Regions from separate parts of the Homo sapiens genome. Here region 1 is linked to region 2. The links are contacts of gene promoters, found by promoter capture Hi-C in blood cells and fetal thymus (Javierre and others, 2016). All regions are on one chromosome and are shown on one strand. The core of a region is centred on a gene start or on the middle of the fragment in contact, and the rest is flanking DNA. Distances in the headings are between cores, read along the strand shown.

Evidence for each region. The method cuts DNA at HindIII sites, captures the fragments that hold promoters and counts their contacts. A CHiCAGO score of 5 or more calls a contact.
Region 1: a contact is called between a fragment that was not itself captured here and the fragment with the promoter of ODF4 in region 2, in 1 of 17 cell types (erythroblasts). The highest score is 5.3, in erythroblasts.

The regions. Positions count from the first base shown.
Region 1 is chr17:8,780,603-8,785,787 of GRCh38, reverse strand. No RefSeq gene overlaps it. Among named protein-coding and RNA genes, the nearest start is that of MFSD6L, 16 kb to the left of the region's middle. The HindIII fragment of the contact is 3,324 bases long and covers 658-3,981 here.
Region 2 is chr17:8,336,250-8,342,122 of GRCh38, reverse strand. ODF4 (outer dense fiber of sperm tails 4) reads right to left here and starts at 2,283. Exons shown (of 3, transcript NM_153007.5): 1 at 1,618-2,283. The coding sequence starts at 2,071. It overlaps LOC124903916 (a long non-coding RNA gene), which reads right to left and starts at 4,066. Exons shown (of 2, transcript XR_007065607.1): 1 at 3,832-4,066; 2 at 3,365-3,700. The HindIII fragment of the contact is 6,182 bases long and covers 1-3,383 here.

The sequences.
Region 1 (5,185 bases), core at 1,070-3,569, 440 kb before region 2:
AGGGAGCAGCTGCAAAGGCTTCCAGTGGAATTGGCAGATCAGCCTGGCCAGCCCAGACAGCCTCTGGCAGCCTTTCCTGAGGATATGGACGACCCTGATGCTACTTTTGTCTTGATCAGTGTAAATGTGAAGAAACAGGATAAATAGCTGCATGTACTTTTTGAGTTTCCTAGGGCTGCCGAGGGACCACCTGAGGTCAGAGTCACAATAATAAAACCAATTTCACAGACCCTCACCTCCTGCTCCTCAGCCCCATCCCCTTCCAAGCCTGGCTGCCCAAATCTCATCAGTGTATATTCCAGTGCCTGCAGAGAGAGGCTCACAAGGATTTACAAATAAGTCCTATCTCACCAGGCACTCACTGGATCTCTGTCACCATGGAAGAGATGAGAAGATTCCAAGAAAATTCCAAGACCCTCCACTATCATATCAACATGTTACAATTTTCCTCTTTCAGGAAGCATGTGGCATCCAGAAACAGTGCTTCTTCCTATTGTTCTTGGCAAATTACATCAAAATCTGTGTGCTCTTAGCCCAGAAAAGAGATGACACTTCCAGGAAGGAGAGAATATAGCACCTGCTTTTGGCTAAAGCCCCTCTTCTCCAAGGTTGTACTGGCAGGTTTTCTAAATTTTGATTAGAGAATAGTGAGAAGCTTGCCCTTGGAGAGGTGAGTTAGGTAAGAGAGCTATGATTGGATGTCACCACTGAACCTACCTGAAATGAGGTAAGAGAGTTGGGAATGGATCCCACCAGAGGCCCATCATTTTTATGGCAAGTCATAAGAGGGATCTGAATGTCTCCCCCCATGACAATAGCTGTCCCATCTTGCCTTGGAGCTTGGCTGTCAGCAGCAAATAAACCTCACTGTGTCTGTCCCTGGGACTAGCGAGTCAGACCAACTCAGGGGCTCAAGGTGTTTGGATATTTGAAGAAGTCTTGCCTTCCACAGAAGACCAGAGGTTGTGTGGTGATATCTGAATTTTGCTTAGCATTGTCTTGAACAGGAACTAAAGAAACATTTCAAGAAGAAAACAATTGCTTTTAAAAACTTAACTCTTCTTTGTCATTTGGTGCTCAGAAATCTTTGTCTCATTGCAAACAAAAGAAACTAAGTAAGGGCAGTCTTGGAAAGAAGACGCACCAGGTACCATTACTGCAGTCATACTGAGGCCCACCACCACCACGACTACCACCAATGGAAACGAGAGATGGGGTTCAGATGTGGATGACAAAGATGTGGATGACAAAGGTCTAGCATCAAAGGACAAAATCAACAGAAGTGAAGAGGCAACCTATGGAATGGGAGAAAATATTAGCAAATCATACATCTGATAAGGTGTTAATATGCAGAATATATGAAGAACTCTTAAAACTCAACAACAAAAAAACAAACAACCTGATTTTTAAATGGGCAAAGTACTTAAATAGACATTTCTCTAAAGAAAATATACAAAAGACCAGCAAGCTCATGAAAAGATGCCCAACATCACTAATCATTAGGGACATGCAAACCAAAACCACAATGAGATACCATCTCTCACACTCATTAGGATGGCTGCTATGAAAAACAAACAAAAAACGAACAACAACAACAAAAAAAAAACAGGCCAGGCACTGTGGCTGGCTTGTAATCCCAGCACTTTGGGAGGCCAAGTTGGGCTGATCCCTTGAGGTCAGGAGTTCACCTGGCCAACATGGTGAAACCCAGTCTTTACTAATAATACAAAAATTAGCTGGGCCTGGTGGCACACACCTGTAATCCCAGCTACTCAGGAGGCTGAGGCAGCAGAATCACTTGAACCTAGGAGGCAGAGTTTGCAGTGAGCAGAGATTGGACCACTGCACTCCAGCCTGGGTGACGGAATGAAACTGTGTCTCAAAAAATAATAATAATAATAATAAGTGTTGACAAGGATGGAGAAATTAGAACACTATGAACTGTTGATGGGAAAGTAAAATAGTGCAACCACTATAGAAAACTGTAGGGTTCTTGCTAAAAAAAATTAAAAATAGAATTACCATATGATCTAGCATTCCCATTCCTGAATATATACCCAAAAGAATGGAAGGCAAGGTCTTGAAGAGATATTTGTACATGCATGTTCATAGCAGGATTATTCACAGTAGCCAAAATGTGGAAGTAACCCAAGTGCCTATCAACAGATGAATGGATAAAAAGTGTGGTATATACATACAAAGGAATATCATTCAGCCTTTAAAAGGTTTCAAATGTTTCCTCTGTTCTTTTCTTTTTTTCTTCTCCTGTATTCTCATTACATGTATTTATATGAATAGCTTTTGTAGCTATCCCACAGTCCTAGGATGCTCTGTTTGGTTTTTCTTTTTTAGTCTCTTTGCACTTTGCTTTTTTTTTTTTTTTTTTTTTTTGAGATGCGGTCTCGCTCTTTCACCCAGGCTGGAGTGCAGTGGTGCAATCTTGGCTCACTGCAACCTCTGCTGCCCGGGTTCAAATGATTCTCCTGCCTCAAGCCTCCCAAGTAGCTGTGATTACAGGCACCTGCCAGCACGCCCAGCTAATTTTTGTATTTTTAGTAGAGACAGGGTTTCACCATCTTGGCCAGGCTGGTCTGGAACTCCTGACCTCGTGATCCACCCACCTCAGCCTCCCAAAGTGCTGGGACTACAGGCGTGAGCCACCGCACCCGGCCTTGCACTTTGCTTTTCAGTTTTGGAAGTTTCTTTTGAGATATCCTCAAGCTCAGCGTTTCTTTCCTCAGCTGTGTCCAGTATACTAATGAGCCTATCTGGGTGGTCTTTATTTCTATTACAGTGTTTTTGATCCCTAGTGTATGTTTTTGGTTCTGTCTTAGAATTTCTATCTCTTTGTTTAAATTGCCCATCTGTTCTTGCATGTTATCTGCTTTATCCATTAGAACGCTTAGCATATTAATTATATTTGGGTTAAATTCCTGATCTGATAATTCCAACATCCCTGTCACATGAGTCAGATTCTGATGCTTTCTCTGTCTCTATATTTTGTTTTTGCCTTTTAGTATGCCCTGTAATTTGTTTTCCCCAGACATAATGTACTGGGTAAAAGAAACTTCTGTTCATAAGCCTTTAGTAATGTGGTGGTAAGGTGTGGGGGAAGAAGAGCATTCTATAGTCCTATGAGTAGGCCTCAGTCTTTTAGTAAGCCTATGCCCCTAGACTGTGAACTTCAGACGTGCTTCTCAGTTGCTCCCCTCTCCCCTTAGGTAAACTAGGATGGTTAGAGTGAACTGGAATTAGGGTTTTCCTTCTCCCACATGGAAGGTTGGAGGAAATTAGAGTTGAGTATTTCCCTTCCTCCATGTGGAAGCTACAGCTGGTTGGAATTGGATATTTTCCTTCCCCTAAGTTAATTACGCTCTGATAAAAACCCAGCAGGTTAGACTGGTTAAATAGTTTCTCCTAGAGGAAGGCTTTGTTGAAAAGAATGGAATGCATTGGTATTTCCAAATAGCTTCTTTTCCCATCCCCAGGATGGAAGCATGAGGGAAATTTTCTCAAATTATTCACTGTGAGAACCTGGTAGAGCTCCAGGAGGTAAAATTCACCAGAGTGTAGGGACCCCCTTATGCCTGGGTACCCCTGGAATATTTATCTCTCAGACTTGTCCATGCCGAGCCTCCAGCAACTCATCAAGTACAATGCCGGTTTCTACTTGTGAGTTTCTGCTTCCGTATGTTTTGATTCTCTGTATTCACCTCTCTGTCTCTCCAATCTTGGGAGCACTGGTTTATCCTGTGACATCACTTGTCTCACAGATCTAAGAAGAGTTGTTGATTTTCCAGTTTTTTCAGCTTTTTACTTGTTAGGACAGAGTGGTTACTTCCAAGTTTCTTAACATGCCAGACCACAAACTAAAAGTTCTGCATTTTCAAAAGTGTTAACCTCTGAGGGTTTTCTAGTTGTGATCGTGACCTTTGGTTCCAACTCAATTTTAACCAAAGTCAAATCAAAGTGTTTGAAGCTTAAAACTCATATTTCCACAATATCCTTTGCCCAGTTTTTGTTCTGTTTCTTGTCTTTTTTCATGTGGTTTTGCAGAAGTGTGTTGTATAATCTAGATATTAATCCTTTGCTGATTTTCATTTCGGAAATATCTTTGCCCAGTCTGTCACTCATTTGTTAACTTTGGTATATTTTTTTGAACAGAAAATCTTATTTTGATGTAATCAAAGTTTTTTATTTTCCCATTACAATTTATCTTGAGGATCTTAAGAATCTCTCTTGCTACAAGGATTCTAGGGAGAAAAATAAAATAAAATAAGAATCTCTCTTGCTACCCCCCCCACTTCCAAGTTAAAAAGATACTACATTTTCCATATTAGCTTTTAATTTTAAACTCTCATTTTAGGTCTTTAATTCATTTGGAATTTCTTTTGAATAGACTTAAGATAGGGACCCACCTTTATATTTCTCCACTTAGCCAGTTTTCAAAATGCTATAGACTAAATAATCCACTCTTCCTCTATGATTTCTGGCACTACATCTTTATACTTAAGTCTGCTTTTGAGTTCTCTAGTTTTATTAATCTATTTGTCCCTGCACTAATATCACACTAATATCACAGTTAGCACTTGGCTTTGTAATGTCTCAATATTTGGTAAGGTGAGTCTTTCCTCTTTACTCTTCTTTTTTAGGCTTTATTCTCCCTTATAAATTTTACAGTAAGTGTTTCACTTTCCCCCAAAAAAATTCTGGAAATTTTATTGGAACTGCATTGAATTCGTACATTAATTTGGAGGGATTTGGCATCCTTACATTGTTAAGCCATTTATCTATGAATATAGTATGTATTTCTATTTATTATTATTATTATTATTATTATTTTCTTTTTTGAGACGGAGTCTCGCTCTGTCACCCAGGCTGGAGTGCAGTGGCGCCATCTTGGCTCACTGCAAGCTCCACCTCCCGGGTTCAAGCCATTCTCCTGCCTCAGCCTCTAGAGTAGCTGGGACTACAGGCACCTGCCACCACGCCCGGCTAATTTTTTGTATTTGTAGTAGAGATGGGGTTTCACCATGTTAGTCAGGATGGTCTCAATCTCCTGACCTTGTGATCCACCCGCCTTGGCCTCCCAAAGTGCTGGGATTACAGGCGTGAGCCACTGCGCCCGGCCTCAAAACTTCTTTATGTCCTTTAATAGTTTTAAATTTTGCTCCACAAAGATCTT
Region 2 (5,873 bases), core at 1,034-3,533:
TTCTCCTTTTGTAGGTGAAAAGCAGTCAAATATTAGCATGTCATTTGGTTCAATCTAAATAGCTTTATGACCCTGAGCAAGGTACTTAATCTCTCTGAGTCCCAATTTTCTCATCTCTAAAATAGGGATAATTATCCCTATCCCTTAGGATTGACTAAGGACTAAATTGAACAAATGGAGTAAGTGTACAATAAAGGATAGCTTTTGTTTCCCCAAATTTATTATAATAAGGACATAATATTTTCATAATGCTTTCATAATTCATTATATGAATATTTTCATATTCATATGATAAGGACATAATACTTTCAGAAAATAATAGCTGTGTGATTTTTTTCATGCTAAGGAGAGTGAAAAAATGGAAATAAGGGTCAAAAGCTCTGGTTTTCCCCAGGAGCAGGGAAAGAACTCCAAATTCCTGAGGGGTGAGGGAACAGCATAACCAGAGACTAACAACAATAAGAACCAGGTGTGGTGGCCACGGCCTGTAGTCTGAGCTTCTCCGGAAGTTAAAGCAGGAGGATCCCTTGAGCCTGGAAGTTCGAGGCTGCAGTGAGCTATGATTGCACCACTGTACTCCAGCCTGGGTGACAGAGTGAGACCTTGTCTCTAAAAAAATCAGCGAAACAAACAGAAAAAAACAAGGATGAGGAATGAAGCAGCTGCAAGAATTCAGGGAAAGAAGGAACACAGAAGCCAGATGTGGAAAAAGGAAAATGATCCAGAAAAGCAAGGCCTGAGGCAGAAGGAAAGGAGAATGTGTGGGATCAGGGCCTGAGAGGGGACATTGCAAGGAGTCCTCTCAAAGCTCTGGGTACACAAGACTAAGGAAACCCCCATCTCACTGGGGCTCTTGTCCCTGGTAAATTAGGCGATTAATGAATGATTCTCTTGTGCTGAGTCCATGCCCCTCGTAACTTTTTTTTTTTTTTGAGACAGAGTTTTACTCTTGTTGCCCAGGCTGGAGTGCAATGGTGCGGTCTCGGCTCACCGCAACCTCCACCTCCCGGGTTCAAGCAATTCTCCTGCCTCAGTCTCCAGAGTAGCTGGGATTACGGGCATGTGCCACCACGCCTGGCTAATTTTTTGTATTTTTAGTAGAGACGGGGTTTCACTATGTTAGCCAGGATGGTCTCGATCTCCCAACCTTAGGTGATCTGCCTGCTTTGGCCTCCCAAAGTGCTGGGATTACAGGTGTGAGACGCAGTGCCCAGCCTGATTTTTTTTTTTTTTTTTTTGAGACAGGAGTCTCACTAAATTGCCCAGGCTGGACTCAAATTCTTGGGCCCAAGCAATCCTCCCACCTCAGCCTCCTGGATAGCTGAGACTACAGGTGTGCAGCACCATGCCCAACTCTCTCACAGCATTCTTAGAAGCACAGATTTGGCTCTGGGTTTTATCAAAAGCAGTGACATTTTCCATTGCACCAATCAAATCTATTTAGCCAGGCTACAGGATGAGAAACGATCATCGGAGGTCTCAGTGCCAGTGGAACCATCTTGCAGGCCAAAAAGTAAAGATGACCAGAAAGAGGGAACAAGAATACATCCAGGGTGCAGATACAGAGGCCAAGACAGGCTGGCGGCCTGGGCTGGGATGGGGGGTGGAGGGGCTCACCTTTCCCATTCTCTAAGTCAGAACAGCTCCTGGATTTGTAAAAGTGCAGGAGCCCCATGGACATAACGTGGGCTGATGTGTGGATTCTGTTGCTGACATCCACGGGCCAGCGCTGGTAGAAGAGGCTCCTAGAGAGGTCCAGCCATTTCTTGGAGAAGGCCACGACCAATAGTAGGATAAAGGCAACCAGGCTGAGCTCAGAGGCCAACACCTGGGCCATCCAGCGGAAGCTGTGTGTGATTCTCCATTGAAAGGGCAGCGGAGAGTTCTGGCGCTGGCCCAAGGACCTGTTACTACTGAGGGAGAGGGTGGAGGACAGCAGTCTCCCATCTTGTCCCAGCTCACCTGTGCCCCATCCTGCCTCCCCACTCTTCCTTTCCTTTCCAGGTCTCTGATGTTGGTCTCTTTCTCCTTCTGACCTGGGGAACTCATTCCCAGAGTACTCTGCATCCATCTTGAGCACCACTTCACCCTCTGTCTCCCCTTTCCCTCACCAGACTCAATTGTCTCTTCTCATCTTTTGGATATTTTCATCAGCTGCCACCATGCAGCCTGAGGTCTGAGAAAGAATGAGGAAGTCTAATAACAGACCTCGATCAAATAAGAGACTCTTGATCCAAGAGAAGGCCCCAACCCATTCAGCAGGCCAGGTCCCCTAACTGCCACGGAATTTTCCTGGGGCACAGTGAGATGGGGGAGGGAAGCCAAGTCTTCAGCAATTTTTTTTTTTTTTTTTTTTTTTTTTAGAGAGAGAGACAGGGTCTCCCTCTATTGCCCAGGCTGGGATGCAGTGGCACAACCTTGGCTCACTGCAACCTTGAACTCCTGGGTTCAAGTGATCCTCCCACCTCAGCCTCCTGAGTAGCTGGGATTACAGGATTGTGCCAGCATGCCTGGCTAATTTTTCAATTGTTTGTAGAGATGGGGTCTTGATATGTTACCCAGCCTGGTCTCAAACTCCTGGCCTCTGCCAGGCACGGTGGCTCACGCCTGTAATCACTGCACTTTGGGAGGCCGAGGTGGGTGGATCACCTGAGGTCGGGAGTTCGAGACCATCTTGACCAACATGGAGAAACCCCATCTCTACTAAAAATACAAAATTAGCTGGGCGTGGTAGCACATGCCTGTAGTCCCAGCTACTCAGGAGGCTGAGGCAGGAGAATTGCTTGAACCTGGGAGGCGGAGGTTGCGGTGAGCCGAGATCGCACCATTGCACTCCAGCCTGGGCAACAAGAGTGAAACTCAGCCTCAAAAAAAAAAAAAAAAAACTCCTGGCCTCATGAGATCCTCCCCACTTGGCCTCCCAAAGCACTGGGATTACAGGTGTGAGCCACCTTGCCTGGCCTGTGGCTCCAGCTCTAACTCTTTCCGGAAATCCTGTTTCTCAGGCCACAGCTCAGAACTGTGGATCTGACACCTCCCTCCAGCTTCTGCCTCCCTTTACATATGAGCAATGGTATGTGAGAGGCCCTCCTGTGGTCTGCATATGGTTAATTTGTCTTCACCAAACCTCATGCTGAAATTTGCTCCCCAGTGTGGTGGTGATGGGAGGTGAGAGGGCCTAGTGGGTGGTGTTTGGGTCATGGGGGCAGATGCCTTGTGATTGGATTAACGCCTTCCCTGAGACCTCACTCCATTAGCTCCCCGCAATAGCTGGTTGTTAAAAAGAACCTGGCGCTGTTACCAAGCAAAAGTGCTCGCTGCCAGATGTGCATAGAAGCCAATACTCCAATACTAGGGCACTAGGTTTTGAGAAAAGGAAAGCTTTATTGTGAGCTGACCCACGAGGATACGGGAATCCAGCTCAAATCTGTCTCTCTTTGCTGGTCTTAAGGCAGTACTTTTATTAGAAAAGGTTTAGGGGGAGGATTCTGGGATTAGCGGGTGATTGGTGGAAAGAAAGGAGAAGTCTAGAAAGTCCTTAATCATGTCTGGTTATCTCCAAGGTTCTTCGTGGGTTGCATGTGCAAATTTGGTGGCGTTAGTATGAAACAGCAGGTGGAAATTCAGGCTGTGACATCAGCAAGCTCGTTCTGTGCGGATTGCTGTCAGCCATACGGGTTCCCACTGATTTCAGCCAGTCCTGTTATAAGCAAAGGGATTTTTCAGCATTTCAGCAAGCTGTTTCTTAGCTGCCATCCTGTAAACTCGAAAATGTCTGTTAATCACTGGTTTATTTAACTGTTTGGGGCACAGTTTCAGCTCCTCCCTTACCTTGTGATCTCTGCACAAGCCAGCTCCCCCTTGCCTCCACCATAAGTGAAAGCAGCCTGACGTCCTCAACAGATGCCCAATCTTGAGCTTTCTGGCCATCAGAATTGTGAGCCAAATAGCCCTTTTTTCTTTATAAATTATTCACCCTCAGGTATTCTGTTATAGCAACACAAAATGGACTAGGACAGTCCCCTTTTCTCTTCCTAGTTCCTCTGCCCTAACCCCAACCCCAAATGCTCACTGATGGAGCAGGGGGAGGGAGCAGGAGCTTATCCCCAGGAAAAGATCCTCCCTCCATTGTTCTTTGGACATGTCTTGCAAAGATGTCATCGAGCTTCCCATTGCTTTCCCCAACCCTTCACCTCCCTCCCAGCTCTACTCACTGCTAGTCAATCACCACCAGTTCCTTCCCTCTTCTTTTGACTTTTCTTTTTCCTTTCTTTTTTTTCTCAGCACCAGAAAGAGGAGGATGTAGGATGAGAATGGGTCCTAGAGGTGTCATGCCTTCTGAGATTGTTATAATTTTATTTATTTATGTATTTATTTATTGAGACAGTCTTCCTTCATCACTCAGGCCAGAAGGAGTCTCTGTCTAAAAAAAAAGAACATAGGCTTTGGGGTCCAACAGGCAAAGGTATGAAAAATGGGTCTTCCCCGCCTTTTTTTTTTTTTTTTTTTGAGATGGGATTTCACTCTTGTTGCCCAGGCTAGAGTGCAATGGCGCCATCTTGGTCAGCTAACTGCAACTTCCGCCTCCTGGGTTCAAGCAATTCTCCTGCCTCAGCCTCCCAAGTAGCTGGGATTACAGGAATGAGCCACCACGCCCAGCTAATGTTTTGTATTTTGTAGAGACAGGATTTCACCATGTCAGTCAGGCCGGTCTCAAACTCCTGACCTCAGGTGATCCACCTGTCTCAGCCTCCCAAAGTCTTGGGATTACAGGTGTGTGCCACCACATGCAGCCGGGTCTTCCTCTTAATAGCCCTGTGAACCTGGATGTCATATAGCTTCCTTATGCCTCAGTTTACTCATCTGTAACACAGGAACAATATTTTTCTCATAGACTTGGTAAGAGTGCTGAATGAGATAATGATCAAAAAGCACTCACTAGTTCATAGTAAATTCCCAGCAACTGGTAATTATGTTGTTAAATTATCATTTTAATTGTTTTTACAGTCTTTCACTAGCAAACAGGGAAAGAGCAAAAATGCAGAAGATAATTCCTGGCAAGCATCCTTGCCAGTCAGTGGCATCTGCAAATCATGGAACAGATTAACTCTCCAAATTAACTCTCCTTGTAAGCAAAAGGAGAGTGAACTATGAATCCTGATGTCACCTGTGCAGTGGGACCTCAGGAATGGTTGAAAGTTGAAATTCAAAGCCTGTGAGGGCGCTTCTTCTGGCTGTGGTCTCTGCCCCTCCCTGGGCGTCTTCCTCTGTCTCTGCAGACCAGCCTCTTCCTCTGCTCTGGTCCACATGGTGGGAAACATGGCCCTCACACTCCAAGCTGTGTATCAGACCCCTCCAGCTGCTGGAGGGGAGACCTCTCAGTCCCAAGTCCAAGCATTCTCTGGCCCTGCCAGGGACGAGTGTCATCCTTAGAACAAGCAGCTACAGTTGGGGCACTGGGTCAGAAGACAGAATCTTTTTTTTTTTTTTTTTTGAGACAGGGTCTCACTCTGTCGTCCAGGCTGGAGTGCAGTGGTGCAAGCTCCGCCTCCCGGGTTCATGCCATTCTCCTGCCTCAGCCTCCCGAGTAGCTGGGACTACAGGTGCCCACCACCACGCCTGGCTAATTTTTTGTATTTTTAGTAGAGATGGGGTTTCACCGTGTTAGCTAGGATGGTCTCGATCTCCTGACCTCGTGATCTGCCCGCCTCGGCCTCCCAAAGTGCTGGGATTACAGGCATGAGCCACCACACCCAGCCAGAAGACAGAATCTTGAAGATGGGAGAAGGAGGGGAGAACACTGGGAGAGGGGGTGGTGGGCCTGCTGGGAATGTCATTTACACAGAGCCAGTGTCGTCAGGATTGGGCTTCCT